Regions from separate parts of the Homo sapiens genome. Here region 1 is linked to region 2. The links are contacts of gene promoters, found by promoter capture Hi-C in blood cells and fetal thymus (Javierre and others, 2016). All regions are on one chromosome and are shown on one strand. The core of a region is centred on a gene start or on the middle of the fragment in contact, and the rest is flanking DNA. Distances in the headings are between cores, read along the strand shown. Region 1 overlaps RHEB (Ras homolog, mTORC1 binding). Region 2 holds the start of ACTR3B (actin related protein 3B).

What was found. The method cuts DNA at HindIII sites, captures the fragments that hold promoters and counts their contacts. A CHiCAGO score of 5 or more calls a contact.
Region 1: a contact is called between a fragment that was not itself captured here and the fragment with the promoter of ACTR3B in region 2, in 1 of 17 cell types (neutrophils). The highest score is 5.1, in neutrophils.

The regions. Positions count from the first base shown.
Region 1 is chr7:151,503,929-151,508,626 of GRCh38, reverse strand. The region is part of intron 1 of RHEB (Ras homolog, mTORC1 binding); the gene reads left to right. It also overlaps the pseudogene ETF1P2. Among named protein-coding and RNA genes, the nearest start is that of RHEB, 14 kb to the left of the region's middle. The HindIII fragment of the contact is 8,388 bases long and covers 1-4,698 here.
Region 2 is chr7:152,757,756-152,762,078 of GRCh38, reverse strand. ACTR3B (actin related protein 3B) reads right to left here and starts at 2,327. Exons shown (of 12, transcript NM_020445.6): 1 at 2,153-2,327. The coding sequence starts at 2,196. It also overlaps the pseudogene RN7SL845P. RefSeq lists enhancers at 1,476-1,525, 2,526-2,685 and silencers at 1,701-1,995, 1,756-2,275. The HindIII fragment of the contact is 7,028 bases long and covers 1,248-4,323 here.

The DNA of each region.
Region 1 (4,698 bases), core at 1,636-4,135, 1.3 Mb after region 2:
ATAACCTAATGTAATTTTAGATTTTTCCAGTAGGCATATTAAGTAAAAAGAAATAAGTGAAATTAATATACTTAATTTAGCTCAGTATGTCCAAAATGTTATTTCAACATGTGATGGATATTGTTGATATTTGTACATTTGTCATACTTACACTGTGACACATCTCAGTCGGAACTGAGCACATTTCAGGTACTTACTGTCCATGTATGGCTACTGGCTGCCATATTAGACAGCCCAGATACTGTGAGGAGTGAATTGGTGTTGATAATGAGGTCAGCGCAGATTTTAAGAACTTTTGAAGAAATTATCTTTATAAAATATGAATGGTTTTAACCATTCAGGCTGACGGATGAGTATACTCTATTTCATATCTCATTTTCCTCATACTGTGTTATTACTAGTTTTGATCATTCTTAAATTTCATGTTCTTTAATATGTTAAGAAATAGAGAATTTTTGTCTTTGCTTTTCTCTAGCTCTTTCCCACCCTCACCTGTATCCCAGGTCTTCTCTCCAGATTGGCCACCGTTCTAGGAAAACTCATTCTTCATTGTTGCTAAACATTTAATTTCCTGCAGTTTATCAGGGCTATTATTGTTGCCTTCCACCTCAGCTTTGTCTTTAAACCATCCTGTAGAGATGAATATCCTGTTTTGAAAATCTCCAGGGAAACAGTTTTATGGCCTTTCTGGGTAGCACTTTATTTTTCTTTAGTTTAATAATCCTGTTAATAAAATTCTTCATTTATGAAACTGAGTCCTTCATGTTATATAATTAAACGTATTTCTTATTTTCCTCAGTGGTATATATCTGGTAGCATAATAATTGGCAATAGGGTTACCTATAAGTATTTGAAAGGGTATTTTTATGAACTAGTTTTACTTTTTCTGCCTTGTCTTTGTCATAATAATAATAATTGCAGTTTAATTTTTTCTTTTTTTTAAAATCTCCCAGCATCTATTTTTAAAATTGGGGAAGGGGTGTGAGAAAGAACAACATGATGTCAACCCTGCTTAGCTCACAGGAACAAGCGAGATAATTCATGTGAGAATGTTCCGTAAACTCTAACGGTGTCTCACTTTTTAGGTTCTGTACAATAATTAAGATGTGTATGTTCTGCATCACACACTCTCATCTGACTCTATATGACGGACATGTGGGGATTGGTATTCCAATTAGAATCGTAAACATCTTTTCAAAACACTTCCTTAGTGACACTATATATATGTGTGTGTGTAATATACATAGACACACACAATACAACACATATCACCCCTCCCTCTCGAAAAAGCAACAACCACCAATCCTGCCATAGGGGGAGCTACACATTTCTTACTAGAGTGGGTGCATACGATTGTTAAGCATATGATTGGCATTGTGTGTCATGTAAGGAACACATAGAAACCTTTATGCGGTTCATTGTTTTTCCAGCCTTTTAACAGTGGTGATTCAGGTTTCATTCCATTTATAAGCCAGGTGAGTCTGCAGTCTTTTTTCTGCCGTTTACAAACCAAGTCTGCTTTACTGGTGTCTGTTCTATTGTTAGTCCCCAACGAGGCACTCTCCTGGTATTCCTGTGCTTGCCCTGTGACTGTCTTGAGCCTGCAGAATGCAGCAGAGATGGTGATGTGCCAGTTCCAGGCTTTAAGCCCTAAGAAGTTGGCAGCTTCTGCTTTTGTGTTCTTGGGAGCCTCAAGTGATGTGCAGTAGATGTTAGGAGGAGACACAGAGAAAGGGAGAATGCCCCGCCTTCCCAGCTGTGTAGCACCACCAGCCCACCAGATAAAGGCCCCCCAAAGAGTAAACTAAAAGTGAGCCCAGCGTTGACTGTAGAACCATGAGCACATGAAATGGGTGGTGTCAGTCACTCAGCTGTGGGTAAATGAAACAGTAATTTTCTGCTTTAGGGGTATATGTATGTTTGTTATTTTGCTTGTGTTATTTTGAGGCTTTAGTTGAAATAGTTACTGTATGTCATCTTTCAGGTTAATTTATTAGATATAATTCCGAAAATACTTTTTTTATCCTAAGCGGATTATTTCTGCCTAAGAGCAGTTACTAATAGTATTACTAATATTAATAATAATGAGATTTGCTGAGCACTTGCTACATGCCAGATGTTTGGTATACATTTTCATTTAATCCTCACAAAGCACGTTATAGGATAGGTACCATTATGATGTCCATTTACAGATAAGGAAAAGGACTCAGGAAAACTGCCCAAAGTCACATAGCTAATAACCACCATCTCATACTGTTTAGTAAAAAGTAGTAAATGGGCTGGGCATGGTGACACACACCTGTAATCCCAGTGCTTTGAGAGACCAAGGTGAGAGGATCATTTGAGACCAGCAGTTTGAATACAGTGAGCTATGATCCTGCCATTGTACTCCAGCCTGGGCAACAGATAGAGACCCTGTCTCAAAAAAAAAAAAAAAAGTAAATGCATTATCTTTTAAAAAAAATCTTTTTTTCCTAAATCAAGTTTATTGAGGTGTAATTTACATATAATAAAGTATCCATTTTAAGTGTAGAGTTGGATGAGTTTTGACAGATTTATGCACCTATGTAACCTCTGCCTTTATCAAAATATGAAACATTCCGTCATCCCCACAAGTTCTCTCATGTCCCTCACGCCCTACCCCAGCTCCCCGGGAAGCACTGATCTGCTCTCCATCACTCTGGGTTAGTTTTTCTTACCCTAAAATTTCACATACATCGAATCATACAATATATACTCATTTTTGTATGTCAGTTAGCATAATGTTTTTGAGATTCATCCATGGTGTTGCATGTATAATTTCTTTTTATTGCAAAGTGGTATTCTGTTGAATGGATATACCTTAATTTGTTTATCTGATCACCCATTGGTGGATATTTGGGTTATCCCAGTATTTAACTATTAAGAATAAAGCTATTATGAGCATTTTGAGTAAATGTCTTCGTGGACACACAGTCATTTCTCTTTGGTAAATACCTAGGTGTGATATTGCTGAGTCACATATATGTTAAGTGTATACTTTAGGAGAAACTACCAAACTGTTTTTCCAAAACATTTTGACCATTTTATGCCTCCACTAGCAGCACATGAGAGCTTTGGTTGCTGCCTGCCCATCCTCCCTGATACTTGGTATTGGCGGCCTTTCTAACTTTCTAGCTATTCTCAGATGGTAGGTTGTGGTTTTATTTGAAATTTCCCACTAAGAATGGTGGACATCTTTTCATATACCTACTGGAAATTTGGATATCTTGGTTTGTGAAGTGTCTGTTCAAGTCTTTTGCCTAGATTATCAGATTCTTCTTACTGAATTATATATTCTGAATAAAAGTCCTTTTTCAGATGTGTATTTAATGAATATTTTCTCCTAGTGTGACTTTTTTGTTGTTCCTGTGTTTCAGAGAACAGAAGAAGTTTGTAAGTTTGATGAAACTCGGTTCACTTTTTCGTTTTTTTTTTTGTTTTGTTTATTTTGTATCGTGTCAGGAATCTGTCTACCTGAAGATCATAAAGTTGTTTTTTTTTTTGTTTTCACTTTTAAGCTCTGTTGGACTTGAGAAAGTTTTGTTTTTTGGGTTTTTTTTTTCATATTCTAGAAGTTTTGTAGTTTTAGCTTTTATGTTTAGGTCTCTGATCCATTTCTAGTTAGTTTTTATGTATGAGGTAAGGGTGAAGATTTTTTAAAAAACTTGAGGTCCCACACCTGTAAAAAGAAAGGAAAAATAACATTTAAAACTTTGAGAAAATTTCTTTTTTTTTTTTGAGGTAGCATTCAACAGGTTTTGGCAAGTCTGCAGTCATCTACATCCAGAATCAGGCTGTAGAACAATCCATCAACCCAAAAAGCGCCCTGTGCCTGTTTCTAGTTAGCCCCCTACCCCTTTGTGGTTTTTATCCTATAGTTTTGTCTTTATCAGGATGCCCAATAAATGGAACCATATATTATGCAGCTTTTTGCGTCTGGCTACTTAGCACAACACATTTGAGATTTATTCATGTGTACATATACCAGTATTTAATTCCTTTGTATTGCTTAATAGGACAGTTGACCCTTAATCAACACAGTTGGAACTGTGTGGGCCCACTTATAGGCAGGAATTTTTTTTTCCTCAACCAAATGCAAATGGAAAATACAGTATTCCTTGGATGCAAAGCCCACATGTATGGAGGGCCGACTTTTCATATATGCAGATTCTGCAGGGTGAAAAGCAGGGCTTCATCACACTCGGATTTTGCTATCCTCAAGCATCCTGGAACCAGTCCCCCTTGTATACCAAGGGATGCCTGTATCCCTTTGGGTGGATTTTTTCCCCCCACTTAAATTGCATGTTTTATTTCCCCCAATCCCAGCAATAGCACAGAAGCCCCATCATATCCAACCCAAACTGGTTTCGAGTAGGTTAAGGTTATAGGGACACTTGTCAGAACGTTGATACAAAGGGCTCCCAAACGCTGGGCACAAATGTGTCAGCAAACAGATGGAAGTAAACAGTGCACTGGCCCAAATGCTTCATGAGTCAGTTTGATTTTGCAATGCAGTTTGCATCCTTGAAACTGCCAGTCTGGAGGGAGACAGGGTAGCTTGAGGGAGTGAAGTTGAAATTGCCTCCTATTAGCTCACCCTTTCAACATTAAACAGACCAAGAGAGAAATGGTTCCAACATTTCACCACATCTATTTCTTATGCAGTCTAAGCTGGGA
Region 2 (4,323 bases), core at 1,078-3,577:
GTGCCCACTATGTATAGCTCAATGCTTTTACAATTTAGTACTACAAAAAAAGGCTTTTTTCACCCAAGAAACAGGTATTTCTCTTGATTTCTGATGACAGGAATTACATAACCATGACTCTTATGATGTTGTCAGACAGGAAGACTAAGGTCGAATGTGCGGACCAACTTCAGCAGCCACTGGGCTAAAGCTCAGGGTGACTTCCTAGGTCCGTTCTTTTCCTTTGGCTTGGTTATTTTTATCTGAATTTTACCACTTTTTGTCCTATTTTGAGGCAAAACTAAATCCAAAAATCATTTTGGCTCTCTGGGAAATGTAAGAACTACTGATGTGCTCAAGTTGGTAAATTCGGGCTCTTTCAGGCTCCTTCTGGCCATACACTCGATATGGGGAATTCATATGGAGATTCCCTGCCACCGTTTCTAAGTCTTGACACCAACTTCTGAAGCATGACTTTGGGCCACAAAACAATGATCTATAGAAGTTGAATCTCCAAGTTAGCCAAGTTACATTAATCACTTACCTCAAAAGGTCAAAACTGAGCACGACATTTTAGGTATTTATAGCAAGAAAGATGAGTAAGGTCCACGACTTACTAATCTTAAAGGTATGACAACTCTGTGAGCATTATTTTATTGCTACTACCAAGAATTCCTTTATATTTTAATAGTTCTGCAAGACTAAAACTACAAAGCAAAAATCTCACATGCAAATGTGGAAATGAAAAATACTTTCACCCACTGGTTTCACTCTTGACACAACCAGACCTGAGGGGACCTGAGGTGAACCCATTGGGGGAGGGCATGAGTTAAGGGTGTCAATAATTGAGGGAGGGGAGCTGTAGTATCGACAACGCTGATTTTGGCTTGTGTTTTAGGTAGAAAAGCAAGTTCTAAAATAAAGAGCTACAAAGCTTGATATGACGTGTATTTCAAAAAGAATTCACACAAGCAAAGAGGATTTTTCCAGTCCACAACCACTTCTGGTCGCTTCAGCAGCAAAAGGAAGGAACTAACAGTAGGAGATGGACTGTAGCAAACTAAAGAAGGCACCCCCACAAGGTTGTCAAGGAAACCAAACCAAGTGCATTTTTCTATAGAAAAGAATCAAGGGTAAGGTGAACATGCCATGTTACATTTTGTGGCAAAAATGATTAAAATCCCTTCTTGAAAAAAATCGCTAAGAGACCAAATTTACTTCCAGGCTATTTTACTAAGCACTACACCCATAACGCAGGCAGGCAAGCTTGTATTCCCAAACTACCAGCTACATGGATTCAGCAATCACCTTACTACAACCAGCTAACTTGGGTCACCGATACTTCAGGGCATTTCCTAAGATCTCTTTTTAATAGCTTAACGGCAACGAAAGAAGTGGTCACACTCAAAAAGTTAAAAACAAAAACCTCTACCACAATTCCACAAACATGCTCTCCCAAATTTAGGGTATTTTTCAAAATGGAGTCTTTTTAAACACATCATTTTTCAGCGAAAAGGCAAATCTATGCAAACCAAAGGGACAGCTTGGCCTGAGTGTGCCATTTCATACTGGAAAAGCGCAGGGAGGGCAGTAAAAATGGTATCAAGTTGGGAGATCGATGCTATTCTCTCCACAAGTAGGTGGTAAAGAATCCTCAGCCAGGAGGAATGACACGCACACGCGGGGACAGAACGAGGGCCAGTGCTGAGAACGCTGGAAGGCAGGGACACCGTTCACTAGGAGATGAGTGACGTTAAAGGATCTGCAGTGATGATCTGTGCCTCACGCTGGCGAATATTCCTAGGAGGGGAGATCCCGCGCTCCCGGTGTCCCTCAGGGTGTCCACCCCGGCGACGGCCGGAGCCGGGCTGCGGGTCCAGGGGCCCGGCCACGTGGGCGGGGGAGGCGAGGAGCGCCGGGCTCGCTCAGAGTGGGCACCGCGTCCCTACCCTCCGTGCTTTTCCTCTTGTGGCCCTTCCCGGCAGGGAAGAGGGGGTTTTACGACGTCAAGGCAAGGCTTGGAGGGAAGCGGCGGCCGGCGCCCCACCTGCCCAGGTGATCGCGGGGCTCAAGCCCGGGGCGACGGACGCAGCTCGACCTCCAGGCGAGGTGGACGCCAGGGGCCGGGAGCGGGGCCGCGGAGGAGCGGGGGTGGGCGCCGAGCTGCTCTTACCCGGTGCCACAGTCCACCACGCAGGGAGGCAGGGAGCCTGCCATGCTCGGGACGCGCGGCGCTCGGCCCCGCCGGCAGCCCGAGAGCGCCCCGTCGCCGTCCGCTCCGCCGCCCGCTAGCCCCGCGCGCAGCGTCTCCCGCGAGCCGCCGCAGCGCCGCTGCCGGGAGCCCGGATGCTCGGCGGCCGACACGTGACGTCACTCCCCGGTCGGCCAATCAGAACGCGCGCACGCCCCGCCTCCCCCAACACCCCCACCCCCACTCCGGCGCGCCATCTTTAGTGCTGGCAGCGAGGCTTCTTGGCCCCATACGTCCAACCTTGCTGCTGGAGAGATTGGGGTTTATTTTTAACTGACTTACATGAACGTGACCCCATTTCCGAGGCCTGGCGCCTTTCTCCTCCTGTAAGTCTTCGCTCGAATGTCACCTTGCGAGGGAAGTTGTTCCTGATCACCCTGACTATGTCCCCTACCGGTACTGTATCCTCTGTCTCAACAATCTGTTGGTTTCATTCCTAACCCTTAAAGCAAAGTGTTTATATTTTTATATTTATGTATTTGTTGTCTGCCTCCCCTACTGGACTATCAAATCTTCTAGGATAGGGCTTGAGTCTGTCTTAATCACTATTGATGAGCAGCAGGTGCTTAGCACAGTATTTGGTGTACCTGTGGAAGTGCCCAAATGTTTGTTGAATGACTGAGTAACCTTCCCCATATAATAAAAAAAAAAAAAAAAATTAGTTGGAATTGGCCGGGCGCGGTGGCTCACGCCTGTAATCCCAGCACTTTGGGAGGCTGAGGGTGGATCACAAGGTCAGGAGTTCCAGACCAGCCTGGCCAACATGGTGAAACCCCTTCTCTACTGAAAATACAAAAATTAGCCGGGCGTGGTGGCGGGTGCCTGTAATCCCAGCTGCTCCGGAGGCTGAGGCAGGAGAATCGCTTGAACCTGGGAGGCGGAGGTTGCAGTGAGCCAAGATCGCGCCATTGCACTCCAGCCTGGACAACAGGGCGAGAGTCTGTCTCAAAAAAACAACAAAAAAAATTAGTTGGAATTATTATACCTAACACGGCCTAAATTTTTCTAAGAAGAAAAATCTGCAAAACAAATGCTTGGCCAGCCTTAAGGAATGAATGGCCTTAGACTGAGTAAACCACACCAAGATCACTCCTGGAAAATGTTTTCAAGTGTCGAAGATGGGATGATCGCCCAAAAGTTCTTACTGAAACCAAAGAAGGCAAACACCACCTACTATATTATAAAGGTACTGAGAGTCCCACTTGCCACTTGCTTCCTGCTTCTTGCCCGATCGTAAATTCTTGATACTAATTTTTTAGGAGCTTTCTGGAAACATGTATTTTTTTGTTTTGTTTTGTTTTTTGAGATGAGTCTCACTCTGTCGCCCAGGCTGGAGTGCAGTGGCGCAATCTCGGCTCACTGCAACTCCGCCTCCCAGGTTCAAGCAATTCTCCTGCCTCAGCCTCCCAAGTAGCTGGGATTACAGGCACCCACTACCATGCCCGGTTAATTTTTTGTATTTTTAGTAGAGACAGGGTTTCATCATGCTGGCCAGACTGGTCTTGAGCTCCTGACCTCGTGATCTGCCTGCCTCAGCCTCCCAAAGTACTGGGATTACAGGCATGAGCCACCACGCCCAGCCAAGACATGTTGTTTTTACAGGTACTTAAAACATTGTGTTTTTTACCTAGAAGTAATAGATACGTTGACCACTCCTAGGTAACCCATCATCATTTCTTTTTTTTAACTCATAAGTACCCATTAAGGCCCAGACCTAGAGAATGTTCAGGAGAACTGAAGAGAGAAGCAAATGGGAGGAAAATAAAAAGGAGTAAGTGTGGAGGAATCCCAGTTTAGAAGCCCAAGGCTGGGGTTAAAGATTGGCTGGCTTGCTTTGTGTTTTGCCAAAGCCCTGCCTTGGTCCCTTTTCTTTTTCTTTTCTTATTGCTTGTTTCTTAGAGACAGGGTCTCACTATGTTGCCCAGGCTGGAGGGCAGCGACTATTCACAGGCATGGTCCCACTACTGATCTGCATGAGAGTTCTGATCGGCTCCATCTCTGACCTGGGCCAGTTCACCCTTCCTTAGGCAACCTGGTGGTTCCCCGCTCCTGGGAGGGTGCCATATTGATGCCAAACTTAGTGCAGATCCATC